6 separate regions of the Homo sapiens genome follow, and all the other regions are linked to region 2. Evidence: promoter capture Hi-C in 16 types of primary human blood cells and fetal thymus (Javierre and others, 2016). All regions are on one chromosome and are shown on one strand. The core of a region is centred on a gene start or on the middle of the fragment in contact, and the rest is flanking DNA. Distances in the headings are between cores, read along the strand shown.

Region 1 (2,700 bases), core at 92-2,591, 160 kb before region 2:
ACTTTCATAATAAAAGGTAAAAAACCCTAATTGTCTCATTAGAAGTTCTCAGTCTGTGCTTCAACTCAACTGTGCAAGCCCTATACAGAATGTGAAACTGTAAAATATTTTAAATGCTTGTTTACTGGAAAAGACACAGCAATGATTCATATTCTACTTAATTAGAAATTATTTTTAAGTTGCTATCATTTAATAAAATTCTGTTATTTCATTAAATCTTTAGAATTGTATTCATATTCTTCTTAAAGATTATGTTTCTAAAATGTCATTATTTTAAGGAAATTTGTTGTTTCTAAAGTTTAAAGTTTTATAACTAAAATAACGGCTGTATAAAGAAAATTCAGGAATAACCACTTATTTTAGAATAATTCAAATGCGCTGCTTAACAGAAATACAAAGTGATACAACTACAGTGTTAAAACATTTTAAATACAATTTAAGTTATTGTTTCTGTCATCTAAGCTGAGAAAATTTATCTTAGCCTGAGCATGTAACCTGAGCCTATTACCTTTTCTCTGAAAAAAGGAAAAGACACATGGATTACAATTCTAAAAATGTGAGTTTTTAAAATTTATATAGTTTCAAGAAAAAGCTTTCTTTAATTCATAATCTTATTTAGCCAACAACTTCATTAGACATTGCACATAAAGCAAATACTAACCATGATTTTTTTTTTTTTCTAAATATTCCATCTAAAAGCTGCTTTCCTCACTGGCTTAAATGACTTAATTCTCTCAACTTTTACAAACGTTATCCGCCCTCTTGTTTTAACTCTCTTTACATTTAGGATACTGTTTCCTCAGTCATCTCCTTTTAAATGAATGTTTTCTGGTTTATGTTTGCCAAAGGAAGTTAGTAGAGAGACATGTGGAAGTAAATGAGAAAGTGAAAACACAGCACAATTGCTGAACTCTCCTCAAGGAAGCATTCGCTGAATTGGTGACCAGTATTCACAGGTGGAATGAACATTTCAATAGCATGTGCTGCCAGAAAAATACCTGACTTTGAACTTTGCACAAACTCAGGACAGTCACCAAATCAATGGATATGGAAATATTTGGCTTATATTTAACTAAAATTATCTCAAATGTATATATCTAAAAACAATCTATAATAAGGTTTAAAATGCTTACGGTGACATAGTACACCATACAAAAACTTGAATCATTCATATTTCAAACCCTGAAGAAAGACAAAGTTCCAATGAACAGCCAAAATCCTCTCATAAAGACCCAACACTAAGGCCATGAATATCACACAGTTTTCCTGGCCCCTGTCTCTGACACAACATTTACTTTTGAAGACATCTGCTGACATACTTTCATGGGGCATCAGAAGCCATAAAATACTTACAAGTAAATTTAACTGAGGAGTTAAAAGATCGATATGCTGAAAATTATAAAATACTGATGAAAGAAATTGAAGATGACACAAACAAATAGAAAGATATCCCATGTTTATGGATTAGAAGAATTAATATTGTTAAAATGTCCATACTATCCAAAGTGACCTACAAATTCAATGCAATCCCAATCAAAACTCCAATGTCATTTTTTTACAGAAACAGGAAAAAAAATCCTAAAATTCCTATGGTACTACAAATTCCCCAAATAGCCAAAGTAACCCTGAGCAAAAACAACAAAGCTGCAGGTATCACACTACCTGATTTCAAAATATATTATAAAGTTATAGTAATCAAAACAGCATGGTAGTAGCCTAAAAACAGATATCAACCAATGGAAAAGGACAAAAAGCCCAGAAAGAAGTAAACTGACACATTTACAGCCAATTGATTTTTTGACAAAGATGCCAATAACACACAATGGGAAATGGAAAGTATCTTCAATAAAGGGGAACAACTGGATATCCATATGCAGAAGAATAAAATTACTCTTATTTCACAGCATAAGCAAAAAAACAACAAAAATGTTTTAAAGATTTAAATGTAAGACCTGAAACTGTAAAACTAGTAGAAGACAATGCATGAGAAGAACTCCAGGACACCGATCTGAGCAATGATTTTTTAATATGACCCCAAAGTCACAGACAGAAAAAAAGCAGAAATAGACACATGAGAAAATATTAAACTACCAAGCTTCTGCATAGCAAAAGAAACAATTAGAAGAGTGAAACCCATTGATTAGGAGAAAATATTTGCAAACCATGTATCTGTTAAGGGACTAATATCCAAAACATAAAATGGACTCAAACAACTCAATAGCAAGAAAGTAAATAACCCAATTAAAAAATAAGCAAAGGACCTGAACAGACATTTCTTAAAAGATGACATGCAAATACCCAACAGAAGACAAAGAGATGAAAAAAAATGCTCAACATCACTGTTAGGAAAACACAAATTCAAACCACAATGAAATATCAACTTGTAGCTCTTAGAATGTTTACTATCAAAAAGACAAAAGATAACAAATGTTGGCAAGGCTGTGGGGGAAAAAAATCCTGGTACACTGTTTGAGTAAATATAAATTAGTACAGCCATTATGGAGAGCAGTATGGAGGTTTTCAAAAAATTATAAATTGAATTACCATATGATCCAGCAATCTCACTTCTGAGTGTACATCCAAACGAAATGAATAGGAATGCCACAGAGATATCTGTATTCTCATGTTCATTCCAGCATTATTCACAATAGTCAAGACATAAAAGCAACCTAAGTGTCCATCAATAGATGAATGGATAAA
Region 2 (2,700 bases), core at 109-2,608:
GAACTGTCTGCCTATTCCTTATCACTCAGTAACAGCATTGTCACACCCTGGATTCCAATTTAGAAATCTCACAATTCTTATTATCTCTCAAATCACATTGCATCCACCAAAACGATATGTCCTACAACACCACTGTTCAGCCATTTTCTCTTAAAACTCTTTTGGCTTCTAAAAGTGAAGCATCACTTTATTTTTCTCTATCCCATTTGTCATAAGATTAAGGACTCTGAACCTATACATAAAATAATATTAAAGCCACTGGAGGCGATACATGCAAGGGCTTGGGATAAATCCAGCTTCCGTGTGAATATTTCTTCTGTAATGTGTTAATTAATTTGTTCTATAGGATGTTAAAAGGGTTTCTTTCTCACAAGCAAGGAACTCTAGATGCCCATTTCTCTGAATCTGTGCTAGCTGGGCACCCCTAGGGGGCGCTCCGTCTCTCAAAATACAAGGGGCTGACAGCAGCGTGCCTCTGGGTGAGGCTCACTCTAGGGGTGTGGCCTCACGGAGAACCTCAACCCACAAGAGTTTGGCTTAGAAACAAGTTTGAAAACCTCTTCAGGTCCAGAGCCTTTAAATAATGCCTGCTATGCGCTAAGACAGCCCTGGGTATCCAGAGTTCACAAAGCAAGGACTGATTTCCTTTCGCCTTGACAGCCTCAGCAAAAGTGGAAGGGGGTTTGCAGAATTGCACTATTAGCAGCGTCCACCCGAAGGTCTGCACAGAATTAGACTGAGCTGATTCTGGACAAAGCCCACTGTGTACCTTTATCTACTGGGCAAAAGTTACCCCCAACACCTGCTATAATCGACTCATTTTAGGAGCAAAATGTCAGGCCATGAAGCATCAGATCATTGAAAGACCCAATTAATTAGTCCAGGAAAGGAGTAATAAGAACATCTGTGATCTGAGTTCCATACTAAGACACAGAGAGACGACTGAGTTATTCTGGTGCTTGCTGTCTGAGGTCCAGACAGTACTTGTGACCCTCTTATCCTCAGAAGAGTAACCACAATTCCCTGGAGTGAAGAATATCCCAATTCACTCATGGAGTTCACTTTAGTCTCATTCTCGACCTTTGTCACCAATTGGCTAAGGCTATTTGTTTTTCCAATTCTGTATTAGGAAAAAGAAGTTGCACAGAGGATCAGACATCAGATACGTTTCTAAATTCTGCAGCTCTGGGTGGGCAGCCTCATTTGGGGAAATGCTAGCTGCTGTTTCCAAAGTGGGGAAGCCCACGGTTTCGGACACAGGGCTGACAGCGCTGCTCCAGCAGCCCCCAGGGCCAGAGGAACCCGGCCTTAGCTCCGCCCCGCTCTGCCCGGCCCCGGGTGGCTGCGATGCCGAGGTCCTCTGCTCCCGCCGGGCGTGCAGCGGGCGCGCGCGCGTGTGTTTATGTGTCTGTGTGCGTGTGTGTGTGTGTCTCTCTCTGTGTGTGTGTGAGATGAATTGGAGTCATACGACTGGGTGTTTCCTTCCGAGTGGTTTTCATCAGCAATCCATTAGGAAATCATGGAAACTTTTTTTTTCCTGGCTAAAAGGATGAAAACTGAGTAAGTACATAGAACTTTGAACTTGAGACGGAATGAAACAAATTCAAGCAAAAACCCTGACAGTAACCATGTCCATTCAAATTGCGTATGCCCTTTTTATGTTAAAAGCCGTGAATACTTACAGGACAGTGGGAATTTAAAACTAAATGAAGGGAAGCATACAAAAGGCTGAAAGCAAGACTGCTTTAAAACCGGAGGAAAATTGAGGAACTGCTAAGGCAACCTGGCCTGAGTTCAGCTGTGCAACAGGCACTTTGGGTTTTAATCTTTTGCGTTCTTCAATGCTGTTTTCAGACTCCAGATATACTTTGGTATTGTTTTCTCTCTTCCTGCAAAGCTGAGGCAGAGTCGGACTCCTTTACTGTGAGTTGAAAGATGTGAGAATAAGGCATTGCTGGAAGCAACAGTTTGGCAGCCTGGGGTACACTCAGGTTATTCGTTACAACTATTATTATTTGATGTCTTTTTTTAAACTCAGGTCATCCACTTTTGACTGTCATCCATGGAAGAGCTCTTATTAAAAGCCTCAGACTTTCGGGACCTATGATTCTTTGGCACAACCTTTTGGAAAATTCTTAAGCAGGGATGAAGCAAACTTGATTGGAGTTGGGGAAAAAGAAGACAGATTAGTATTTTTCATGCTGACAAAAAATAGCTGCTATGACTTTTCCCGCAACGTGGACAGGGGCCAAGTGAAGCTGAACTGGTCATGGTCTGTCGCCCAGTGTTCCCTTGTCGTCGGCGATTTTGCCCCCGACCCTTCTTGGTGGGCTTAGTGGTGGCAATCTGTCTCTTCTACCAGACTCTGACCCTCCGAGGGTCGAGGAAGCTCACAGCCGCTGCCCCTGGGGCTGTCCCACACACATCCACTGAAACCCAGGCAAGCAGATGCAAGAAAGGATTCTCTCAGGACAAACAGTGCTTCCTTCTCTCTGGTAATGCCCAGGAAACCAGAAAGGTAAGACTCTCATAAGCTTAACGGAGACAGTTTCTGCAAAGACAGCAATCTGCTTCTCTGTCCTTTCTATAAAACTAAAATTAACTTCCATGAGGTCTGAAAGGGATCCAGAGTGTAAACAGCCTAGAGAGTGACCTGATGACTGGGAAACACGTTACATAAGCTTCAACTTCTTATAGTTA
Region 3 (2,700 bases), core at 49-2,548, 200 kb before region 2:
CTAGCGTGTCTTATAAATAACATATACATGAATGAGTTGGGAAGCTCTGCCTTTCTTACAACAAGGAACCTCTGGAAGTGTTCGAGTAAGGAAGCAGCAAGATAAGAATAAAGTTTCACAAGAATTAATCTGAGTGATAGTTAACAGATCAGTGTTGCCTGGGGCTAGGAGAGGGGAATGCAGGATTTATCACAGATGGGCAAGAGGAAACTTTTTGACACGATGAAAATGTTCTAGATCTCGATTGTTGTTGTGGTTACATGAGTATATATAGTTGCCAAAACTAATTAACTATATACTTGAAAGGGGTATATTTATTAGGGGTGTGTGTGTGTGTATGTGTGTGTGTATATATATATAGTATGTTTTTATATATATATGTATATAAAATCTCAATAAAGTTGATTAAAGAACTTAATTTGGGCTGGGCATGGTGACTCATGCCTGTAATCCCAGCACTTCGGGAGGCTGAGGTGGGCGGATCATGAGGTCAGGAGTTCAAGGCCAGCCTGGTCAACATAGTGAAACCCCATCTCTACTAAAAATACAAAATATTAGCCAGGCGTGGTGATGCACAGCTGTAATCCCAGACATTTGGGAGGCTGAGGCAGGAGAATCGCTTGAACCTGGGAGGCAGGGGTTGCAGTGAGCCGAGGTTGCACCACTGACTTCAGCCTGGGTGACAGTGTGAGACTCTGTCTCAAAAAAAACAGAACTTAATTTGCCTGTGTGTGTATGTGTGTGTACAAGATATTTTAGATAATTTATACTTGTTCTTGGGAAATAATAGTAGGAATGAGGTTAGACAAGAGCATCATTTTGATTTGGCCTGGTGATATTGATTTACATGTAGGAGAATTTGGCTTTTCTAGGTAAAGAATCATCTGAGCTTCACCACAGGCTGGTGAAGATACCATGCCACAAAATGGGGAAAGTGGAAGTATAGCTCTGCCACATATTAGCTAAGTAAATGTATTCAGTCTCTTGGAGTCCCTCTTGTTCATTTGTAAAATAAAGTGGGGTGCCTGCAAATTGCAAATGAGTTGTGAAGAACAGAGAAAATAAGTGTAAAGCACCTCCTACATGTGCCTGGTACCTAGTACGCACCCCTGAAAGTATGAGGTAAAGAGTGATTGCAATTAACACATAAAAATAGAAAAAGAAAAGCTTTCAAGATCAAGATGATACCAAAGATTCTCCTATATATGTTTCTAGGATGTGAGGAAATGAGAACTCAGTTCACAGGGGAGACGAATCTGCTTGTAAATCTCAGGATGACAATAGGAAGGGGGTTGGGTGAAGCAACATAGCAGTTGGCAGTGTTTTAAAAAAGGGGCAGCTTCTTTGCCAGAGAAGATTCAGTAGTATAGTGATTTCTTCTTTCTTTACCTCCCTTGACTCATCCACAGGAGAGGGAATTCAGACAAAAGGAAGCTTCTGTGGCAATCTATTTAAGATTCTCCTCATATAAGATTTGGTTCCCAGCCCATTTTCTGTCAGGCTTCCTGAGATGGGAAAGCAATGCATAAAAATTCTCAGGCTTGACAGTGAATTCTCCTGAGCTCCAGACTGAAATTTACAGCTGCCTGTAGACATCTCCATCTGCATGTCCTGCAGGCATCTCCAACTCTGTGTCTCAGACCAAATTAATTACCCTCTCATACTCGTTCCCCTCCAGTCTTCCATCTAGGTTAATGCCATTGCCAATTTGCCAGGCACAAAATCCAGAAATTTCAGTACTTTTACTTCTTGTCCCACACTCCCTGAGGTCTAGCTACTGCCAATTTTTGTGGATTCACCCTGTTGTGATCTGTTTTATGCACTCTGTTTTTTGACTTCCATTGTCCTGGTGAGGATCCTTATCCCTCTCCAGGACCACAACAACAGCAATCTATTCAGTCTCCTGCCAGGGCCTGCAGTGTGTACAACTCTCAAGTGCTCCACTTACCTAGGCTGTGGTCAATGGTGGCCCACCCACCCAGGAGTTGCAAAATAAGTATAACTGTCTCCTGGTCCCCTCTTTCTCACTTGGCTAATCCAGTTAAATTAATGAAATATTCATCATTTCTCTTTCTGAAATTGCTTCGGTGACTTTACTTTGGGCCTACAGAACAAAGCACCCAAACTCAAATTTCATTCATTTCCTGTCCCATGGCATCTCTTCAATCATTCTATGATCTAACCACATTGAACCATAAGTCATAACTCCAAAATAATGTATACTTTTTAACCTCAAACTCATGGCTCATGGAATATTTTCCATGAGCCAGCTAGACTCCACTGCTCCTTCTGATCCAGCTTGAACGCCATCTCCTTGGCATAGCTGCCTTAATTCCACTCTACTCCATCTCTTATTCTTAAGAAGGGCCCCACTCACTGCATATTCCCTTATTTATTTTTCCTGTGGTTAGCACAAGTGTCTCTAACCCAGATTCTACAGTGTTTAAGGACAGACATCATCTCTTGTTGCCATCTCTGAGTCTCCAGGGCACTTTGAATGGACTTTTAACCAGTCTAAAAATAATCTTCTTAAATTTCTACTTTTAAAAAATGGTGATTTTTTTTTTTAACCAAAGAAAGCTTTTAAAAATTCCCAAAGAAACAGTTAACAGTTTTGTTTGCAATGTACCCAAATAGTGAACTCCCTCAGCTCTACTGCATTAAATATACTTTTTTAACTCCCTTGCAGTTTTATTATTC
Region 4 (2,700 bases), core at 176-2,675, 180 kb before region 2:
GAAGCTCACTTAATAGCAAGCAGCACAGCTATGATTTTAACCAAGGTCTTTCTGAACAGATCATGCCATTAATGATATACTGACTTCAAAGTCCCAAATGAGAACAATCATTTTTTTTAAAACTAAAATTATGTTTAAAATATTGAGAGCTCTAAAAGTCATGAAAAAATCTATTTGTCTGGAACTTGGATATTTATCAAGTTAACTCTCATAAAAAGAAAACTTCACAATAATTTAGCAAAATGGCTTTTCAGATGTTCTTAAATATATGTGAACCATGTGAAATAAAGGGGAAATGGTATACATGGGAAGAAAAGCAGGCCATGAAGTTACCTAAGATATTTTTCAAGAAATAATTGCACCAGAGGTTACTGAATCACAGGCTTAATTTTTCAGCACAGAGGAAATTACCAAAGCTAAAGCTTTAAACATCTGGTTTGAAGGTGCACCACTTACTTCACTCTCTCTACCTCAGAAATTGTAGCACTTACCTCTCTCTGAAAAAAATTCCAAGCATGAGTAAGCCACCGATATCTAGGTAATCCATAATTTGTCATCCTGGCTTTCAAAGTGACCATATCTGACCATTGTACTGGAACCTGGTGATAAAAAGCAAAATATCAACAGCTGTAGCTCACACACAGACACAGATTCACACACACACACACACACACACACACACACGTACACACGCATACTCGGAATGTCTTCTAATTGACAAATACTATTTTAAATTTATATTTGCTCATGGCCTAAATTTAGCTCAGAGTATTCAATGTAGTTATTGGACAATCTCAATGTATAGATTTTTGTGATAAATGAAGAGGTATTTTGTACTAAGGAAAAAAATGAGAAATCACTTTAATGCTCAAGGAAATCACCAACAAGTAATTAACTGTACATCCCACAGACATACTGAAGACTTTCACATAACAAATAACCTCTGCAGAGAAATGTCCTTCATTTGATTTCAAAATGCTATGAAGTTGTTGCTCTTTGAAGCAACTGCAGATAATAGTACTAAAACAAAGAGGAAAGAATTAAGAAGGGAAAGAATTTGGCTCAACTCAAGCCTCACTCTGGGATAATTTTATCAACACTTTTTCAAAAGTTGTAATTAAGAGGTATGTTAGAATTTTAGAAAGAACAGTTCTCCACTTTTACACTGTTGGTGGGAATGTAAACTAGCACAACCACTATGGAAAACAGTGTGGAGATTCCTTAAAGAACTAAAAGTGGATCTACCATTTGATCCAGCAATCCCACTACTAGTTATCTACCCAGAGGAAAAGAAGTCATTATATGAAAAAGATACTTGCACACTCATGTTTATAGCAGCACATTTCGCAATTGTAAAAATGTGGAACCAGCCCAAGCCCATCAATCAATGAGTGGATAAAGAAAATGTATATATCAGCTGGGCATGGTGGCTCACACCTGTAATCCCAGCACTTTGGGAGGCCAAGACGGGCGGATCACGAGGTCAGGAGATCGAGACCATCCTGGCTAACACAGTGAAACCCCGTCTCTACTAAAAATACAAAAAAAAATTAGCCGGTGTAGTGGCGGGTGCCTGTAGTCCCAGCTACTTGGGAGGCTGAGGCAGGAGAATGGTGTGAACCCGGAGGGCGAAGGTTGCAGTGAGCCGAGATCACGCCACTGCACTCCAGCCTGGGTGACAGAGCGAGACTCGGTCTCAAAAAAAAAAAAAAGAAAAGAAAATATATATACCATGGAATACTATTCAGCCATAAAAAGGAAAAAATAATGGCATTCACAGCAACCTGGATGGAATTGCAGACCAATATTCTAAGTGAAGTAACTCAGGAATGGAAAACTAAGCATCGTATTTTCTCACTCGTATGTGGGAGCTAAGCTATAAGACACAAAGCCATAAGAATAATACAATGGACTTTGGGGACTCGGGAGGAAGGATGGGAGGGGGACGAGGGATAAAAGACTACACATTGGGTACAGTGTACACTGCTCAGGTGATGGATGCACGAAAATCTCAGAAATCACCACTAAAGAACTTATTAATGTAATCAACTACCACCTGTTCCCCAAAAACCTATTGAAATAAAAAAATTAAAAATAATTTAAAAAGAAAGAACAGTTTTTAAAGTAAAGCATTTTTGTGCTTCTATTCTCCAATCACCTAGCACCATGTCTATTACAGAGTATTTAATCATGACAGAGCTTTAGGTATACAGTACCACAGTCATTGTTGTAATACAATACAATACAACAGTCATTACTGGCCAGAAATCTGGTCAGTATATCAAGCTATGATTTTACTGCAGGGCCATGAGAAATTGAGGTATACAAATGCAAATCTCATTACACACACAGTATTAAGGCAACTCTGGGAAACTGGATGGACATTCCCATCTGATCTATGAAGTAATATAGACTGGGCTTAGTAAAGCAAGCTTGACATTCAACAAATAACACAAAGATAGAGAACCAAAAAGGAAAAAAGGGAGACATGAGCAAATAAGGCTCCAACAGAACTAGAGATTAGGATTATTATGAAATCTTATTTTTTAAGATAGTCATATCGATAGAAGCAGTTTCAAAATTCCTGACCACAGAAAATCTTCGTTTTTTTCTTTGTTAACTTTTTTTTTGATTACTTGGAAATACACAATAAAACATCCAAACACTTGGGCACACATTTTTTTCCCCCAAATAATGGGC
Region 5 (2,700 bases), core at 74-2,573, 210 kb after region 2:
TATTTTAGTAGAGACAGGGTTTCACCCTGTTGGCCAGGCTGGTCTTGAACTCCTGACCTCAGGTGATCCACCTGCCTTGGCCTCCCAAAGTGCTGGGATTACTAGCACAAGCCACTGTACCCGGCCTATAATATATTTTGAAATGATAGCAGTAAAAACTGTTCATGGCACTACCTGGATAATGCTGATTAAATATAATTTAATTAAAATGGACTGAAGTATAGATTTATTTTACCATTTTTTTCAGGTGATTGAAGCAGAGCATATATGATCTCCACATATCAAGACTAACGGATGATTATTTCATTTACCAGCTGTATGGTTTGGGGTTTTGGTTTTTCTGTTAAATCTGTCAAGCTTTAAAGCTCAGTATGTGTCATTGCTTATTTAAAAATGTAATATGATGTGAAGGATAGAAATGAATTCAAATGTGTGTATTGGGACTTTCTAATGTCTCGTAAAATAAGTTTTTAATTTTTATAAATTCATTAGAACTAAAATGATCTGTTTTTAAAAACATCCCTTTCTCTCATTAGTTGTTTGTTTTTTGTTTTTCTGTTTTGAGATGTGGGCTCACTCCATTGCCCAGGATGGAGTGCAGTGGTGCTTTCACCATTCACTGCAGCCTCGGCCTTCAGGGCTCAGGTGATCCTCTTGCCTCAGCCTCCTGAGAAGCTGGGACTACAGGCTTGTTCCACCATGCCAGGCTAAATTTTCTGTTTTAAAAATATGGAACGCTTCGTGAATTTGTTGCATGTCATCCTTACACAGGGGCCATGTTAATCTTCTCTGTATCATTCCAATTTTAGTATATGTGTTGGTGAAGTGAGCACCATTAGTTTTCAATATTATGATTTTCTTGCTTAGTATACTACAGTGTATAAAGTACCATACTAAAGTCTCCTGTTTTATTTGTCCATTAATTCTTTCAAAATAGGAGATACAAATAGAAACATGTAAGACCCCAGACTTTTAATAGACATGATGATGAAATATCTACACAGGTATCTGTAATACTAACCCAGGAAATCTTTGTGTAGAGTTAAAAGCTTGATTTTGAAGAAACATAAGATAGTTTTAAAATATTTTTGCTTTATTCTTTCCATAGTTTAATTACTATCATTTTAAATCACCTTTCATTATATGAAAACCCATATTGAAACAAAGAACTGCTCATTTTCTAGTGTTTACAGATACATCACATAATGTTGATAACTCCAGCAAAAATTTAATTTTAGAAATCTGATCATTTTAAGTCAAAGGAGAAGTACATCTAACACAGTTATGCTAGGTTGAGAATATGAAGTACTGCTTTAAATGTTTGCTCTGGAACCAAATGTAGAAAAGTTTAGATAAGTCATGGACCAATCATTACTAAATTCACCTCAAGGATATTTTCACTCTTCTCTACTTGGTAATAACCACTAAGGGAATAGGGAAATTTACACACATATCTAAGAAATATGAAGGACTTCCAGACAGTTATGCATTTTGAAGAAAACATTTATCTTCAGTGTAAAAACATTCAATAGTTAATTTTTCTTTCAAAAACACAACTTGCTGCTTATTACCGGTATCTTGACTTCTAACAAAACCTCAAGCTTGGTTGGTGTTTGGTGTGAATGTGTGTTCCTATGAGTGTGCTGTAAATTGGCCTTGGAGAAATAGGGGTTTTCTTGAATCCAGGAAGCCTTGCTGTGTTGTTTGGCTGTTAGTTGGTGCCTTGACTATAACACATAAAGGGACTATGTGGCTTAGGTTGCCGCTTTCCTAGAAGGCCGGGGGGAGATGGTGTTTAGTGGGTCTGCTGCTTGAGGAGGCCAAAGAAAACCTTGTTGTAAGTAGCGCCTCAGGGTGGAATACATTCTTTGCCAAGCATGTCATTCAGTTTTCAGAAATAATTTAGCTGCTTTGGGATGTGGAGAGCAGGAAGGAATTTTGCTATTGGCTGCTGGAATAGTCCTGGTGAATAAAATGGTGGGGAGAAGATTGCTGAGAACAATCTGCTGCTGGGAGCTGGGGGGAATTGAAACTTCAGTCTGCTCAGTTGGCACTAGCTGTATGCAGTCTGTTGTGGGCCCTATGAGAAAGCTACCTGCAGGCTGCTACTCAGTAAGCAAACAGCCTCCATTGTACCTTCTGACTGCTTGCAACTGTCAGGCAAATGCTTAATCAGCAGCTTTTGAAAAAGAGCATGATTAATAAACCCATAAAACTCTCTTCTCTGATTAAAGCAGCAACTGTGTGGCAAAATCTATTAGAGCTTAGTTAGAGACCATTATAGTAGAGAAAATAAATTATTAAAGGGCAGATTTGTAGGCACTCTAGGAAAACAGATTTGGCTGGACTTAGTCCTGTCTCCCAGCTGTGAGAATTAAATAGGAGTCTGGGGACATGTAAAATTTAGTGCAGGACATACTTATAAGACAGCAGGGAAAATGCTATGACTGAAAGGCAGCAGCTCTCTTATAAATGCACATTGATTTTCAAAGGCTGAAGAGTGTTTCTTCAGTTCCCCGTGCTACCGTACGCTGACAGAGAATAGATGAGACCGAATTTTAGATCACACTAAAGTTTCTTTTTTTTTTTCAGCTTTATTTTTAAACCTTTTCCCACAAGTCTAGCTCATTAGAGCAAGAGAACTTTAATGAAATAATGGGCACAAAGTCAATCTGGAAAGTTAAAAAACACCATTTGGTT
Region 6 (2,700 bases), core at 122-2,621, 140 kb after region 2:
CTTTGGTCCAGGGCTCATTGATGATCCAGTACATCACGCAGACAGGGAGGCCATCATTGTCCTTATCTTCTCAATGGTTACCACAGTTTTTTCTATAGAAAATGTCAACTTTATGGATGTACATTACCTGTGTTCAATGACTTCATCTTTCCTTTTAAGGAAAGATCATTGTCTTGTAGCAACGAGGTGAGAAAGTCAGGAAAGCTTGACAATACCAGGTAATAGTTATATGTTTGTCCTGAGGCTCAAAATCCAGAGATCTCAACAGAATTAGTGTGAATCTGAACAGAATGAAAATCTTAAAATCAATGTGGTGCACCATGTGCTAATTTTACCTTCCTAGAAGTACAGTTGCATTGTACATTACTCTAAGGAAATGCTTTCAATGAAAATCCACATGGATTTGAAACAATGTATTCACAAAATTATGCAGAAAATCACTGCAAGATGCCTTTACATACAGTGTCTCATTCCATTAAGATAGTAACCTTTCCAAACTTCAGTTTCTGTGCATTTCAGGGTTGTGTCTTTTGTAAAAGTCACCTGGAATAAACAGTTTTTAAAATAAAACTGCAAAAAATTATCATGGCTTCCAACTTTAGCAATAATTTTAATTCCTTGATGCTTTTAAATTTCCTAGCTGATGTTTATATTTGGAGCTGAATATGTCATATTCATCTCTTCTCCATTACAGTACGCAGCACAATATCTGGGACAATACATATTTCTAAAATGTTATTTAACAAAGAAAATTGTATTTAACTCTCATAGCATCCCTGTGAAGTAAGGTAAACATTGTTATCTCCATTGTGCTGGGGTGGAAATGGAGATTTGCACCAGCACAGGAAAGTCTTGTCAGGGGCCTGCAGATGATCCTGCCTGCTGTTCTTTATCATCAGGACCAGCAATTTTTCTGTCTGCAATTTAAATTATTTTGGTCCCAAATTTGAGGATTTAAAGGGCAATCTGGCCAAGTATTTAGTTAGTTATACAACAGAGAAAATTAGGTGAACACACCAGAATTTAACTAACCCTTGCTATTCACTACTGTTAATTAGAGTTTAAGGGTAGAAGACTTGGCAAGACATAGGTCATTTTCTGCATGGTATACTTATTTCTTCAATTAAATGTATGTTCTTCTCAGGCTGTGCCTTGGTGATTCCAAGATTTTTTGCTCCAAAACAGTGTAACTATAGCCAAACAGATTTCCAATAAGAATGTGTATTCTTGAATCACTTCTATTGGACCCAAGCTATCTGAGATTCCTCAGATTTGGACTGAGAGGGACTTTTTACCCTGGTTTTCTTCAAATATGCTTCTACTGATTAGGGATGATGAGATTTCCACCTACTTCCTTTGAGGGTAGATTGCCAGTTTTGAGGATTGAAATGCAGAAAGCGTTTTTTTGTGTTCATCAAAGTAACTGTGCCCATACAGAAGAAAAGATAGTGTGTTAGATGTAATTTCCACGCGTTTTGTTCATTTCATTAATCCAGAGTTGTTTGGCATTGCATTTGCAGGAATTCTTTCACAGAAGATAAGAACATTGAAAAACCACAAGTGCCATTTGATGCAATAGAAAATAAAAAAGGTAAAAATATAGATATTCCCACTTATTTCAACATAAAAATAAGTATTTCCTGGCAAAAAAATGCAAAACTATTTAGCTTCATTAGCAATCAAAAATGAAAATTAAATGAGGAAATGCTATTTTCCCTTAAATTTGGAAAGGATTTTCTTAAAATTATAGAGAGGGAATCCAGCAATCCTGCTACTGGATATCTATCCAAAGGAAATGAACTCCGTATGTTGAAGAGATATTTGTACTCTGATGTTAACTACAGCACTACACGCAATAGCCAAGATATAGAATCAAACTAAGTGTTCATCAGTGAATGGATAAAGAAAATGGGGGTGTATGTACACAATGGAATACTATTCAGCCACAAAAGAGAAAGAAATCCTGTTGTTTGTTATTTGTGACATAGATAGTCCTGGAGAATGTTAAGTGAAATAAGCCAGACACAAAAAGATAAAAACCCCATAATCTCACTCATGTGGGATCGAAAAAAGTTGATCTCACAGAAGTAGAGAGGGTTTACCAGTTTTATGCTCTCATAGAGAGTAGAATAGTAGTTATTAGAGGCCAGGGAGGGTAGGAAGGGAAGGAGGTGGCTAGAGATTGGTTATAGTTAGGTAGAAGAAAAAGTTCTGTTGTTCTATTAAAAAGTGGGATGACTATTGTTAACCAATATATATGTTTAAATAGCTGGAAGAGAGGATTTTGAATGATCTCATCACAAAGAAATGTTAAATGTTTGAAGTGATAGGTATGCTAATTAGCCACATTTATTCATTACACAATGTATACATGTATCAAAATATTTCACATTATACCCCAGAATTATGTGTCAATTAAAATAAAACTTTAAAAAAGATAGTAAAGTTGGAGAGAGTGTATGGAAATCAGTATTCTCATAGTGCTGGTGGACGTATAAATTAGAACAACCTCTATTAAGGGGCCATTTAAAATCTAAGAAAAGCTTTAAAAGTTATTTTTATAGATCAGAAATTTTACTTCTAAATGTTCATTTTAAGGAAATAATATATACAAAATTTAATTACATAAATTATCAACAAATTAAAAAAATAGAGTTCATTACTATTGCAATAAGAGTGGACTGGACACACAAATTAAGC

Evidence for each region. Contacts are between HindIII fragments. The CHiCAGO score rates a contact against its expected background, and 5 or more counts as called.
Region 1: a fragment that was not itself captured here is called in contact with the fragment with the promoter of CPED1 in region 2 in 1 of 17 cell types (neutrophils); the score reaches 5.8 in neutrophils.
Region 3: a contact is called between a fragment that was not itself captured here and the fragment with the promoter of CPED1 in region 2, in 1 of 17 cell types (naive CD8 T cells). The highest score is 5.3, in naive CD8 T cells.
Region 4: a contact is called between a fragment that was not itself captured here and the fragment with the promoter of CPED1 in region 2, in 4 of 17 cell types (monocytes, megakaryocytes, naive CD4 T cells and 1 more). The highest score is 8.7, in monocytes.
Region 5: a fragment that was not itself captured here is called in contact with the fragment with the promoter of CPED1 in region 2 in 1 of 17 cell types (monocytes); the score reaches 5.2 in monocytes.
Region 6: a fragment that was not itself captured here is called in contact with the fragment with the promoter of CPED1 in region 2 in 5 of 17 cell types (monocytes, M0 macrophages, erythroblasts and 2 more); the score reaches 9.2 in monocytes.

The regions. Positions count from the first base shown.
Region 1 is chr7:120,828,723-120,831,422 of GRCh38, forward strand. The region is part of intron 4 of TSPAN12 (tetraspanin 12); the gene reads right to left. Among named protein-coding and RNA genes, the nearest start is that of TSPAN12, 28 kb to the right of the region's middle. The HindIII fragment of the contact is 1,503 bases long and covers 591-2,093 here.
Region 2 is chr7:120,987,353-120,990,052 of GRCh38, forward strand. CPED1 (cadherin like and PC-esterase domain containing 1) reads left to right here and starts at 1,359. Exons shown (of 23, transcript NM_024913.5): 1 at 1,359-1,560; 2 at 2,039-2,518. The coding sequence starts at 2,270. RefSeq lists an enhancer at 535-614. The HindIII fragment of the contact is 5,089 bases long and covers 1-2,532 here.
Region 3 is chr7:120,783,780-120,786,479 of GRCh38, forward strand. No RefSeq gene overlaps it. Among named protein-coding and RNA genes, the nearest start is that of TSPAN12, 73 kb to the right of the region's middle. The HindIII fragment of the contact is 267 bases long and covers 1,166-1,432 here.
Region 4 is chr7:120,809,972-120,812,671 of GRCh38, forward strand. It overlaps TSPAN12 (tetraspanin 12), which reads right to left. Exons shown (of 8, transcript NM_012338.4): 6 at 492-599. Among named protein-coding and RNA genes, the nearest start is that of TSPAN12, 47 kb to the right of the region's middle. The HindIII fragment of the contact is 2,010 bases long and covers 421-2,430 here.
Region 5 is chr7:121,194,225-121,196,924 of GRCh38, forward strand. All of the region lies in intron 16 of CPED1 (cadherin like and PC-esterase domain containing 1), which reads left to right. The region is part of intron 1 of LOC124901735 (a long non-coding RNA gene); the gene reads right to left. It also overlaps the pseudogene RNU6-517P. Among named protein-coding and RNA genes, the nearest start is that of WNT16, 130 kb to the right of the region's middle. The HindIII fragment of the contact is 552 bases long and covers 1,048-1,599 here.
Region 6 is chr7:121,132,303-121,135,002 of GRCh38, forward strand. It overlaps CPED1 (cadherin like and PC-esterase domain containing 1), which reads left to right. Exons shown (of 23, transcript NM_024913.5): 13 at 1,521-1,591. Among named protein-coding and RNA genes, the nearest start is that of CPED1, 140 kb to the left of the region's middle. The HindIII fragment of the contact is 2,339 bases long and covers 203-2,541 here.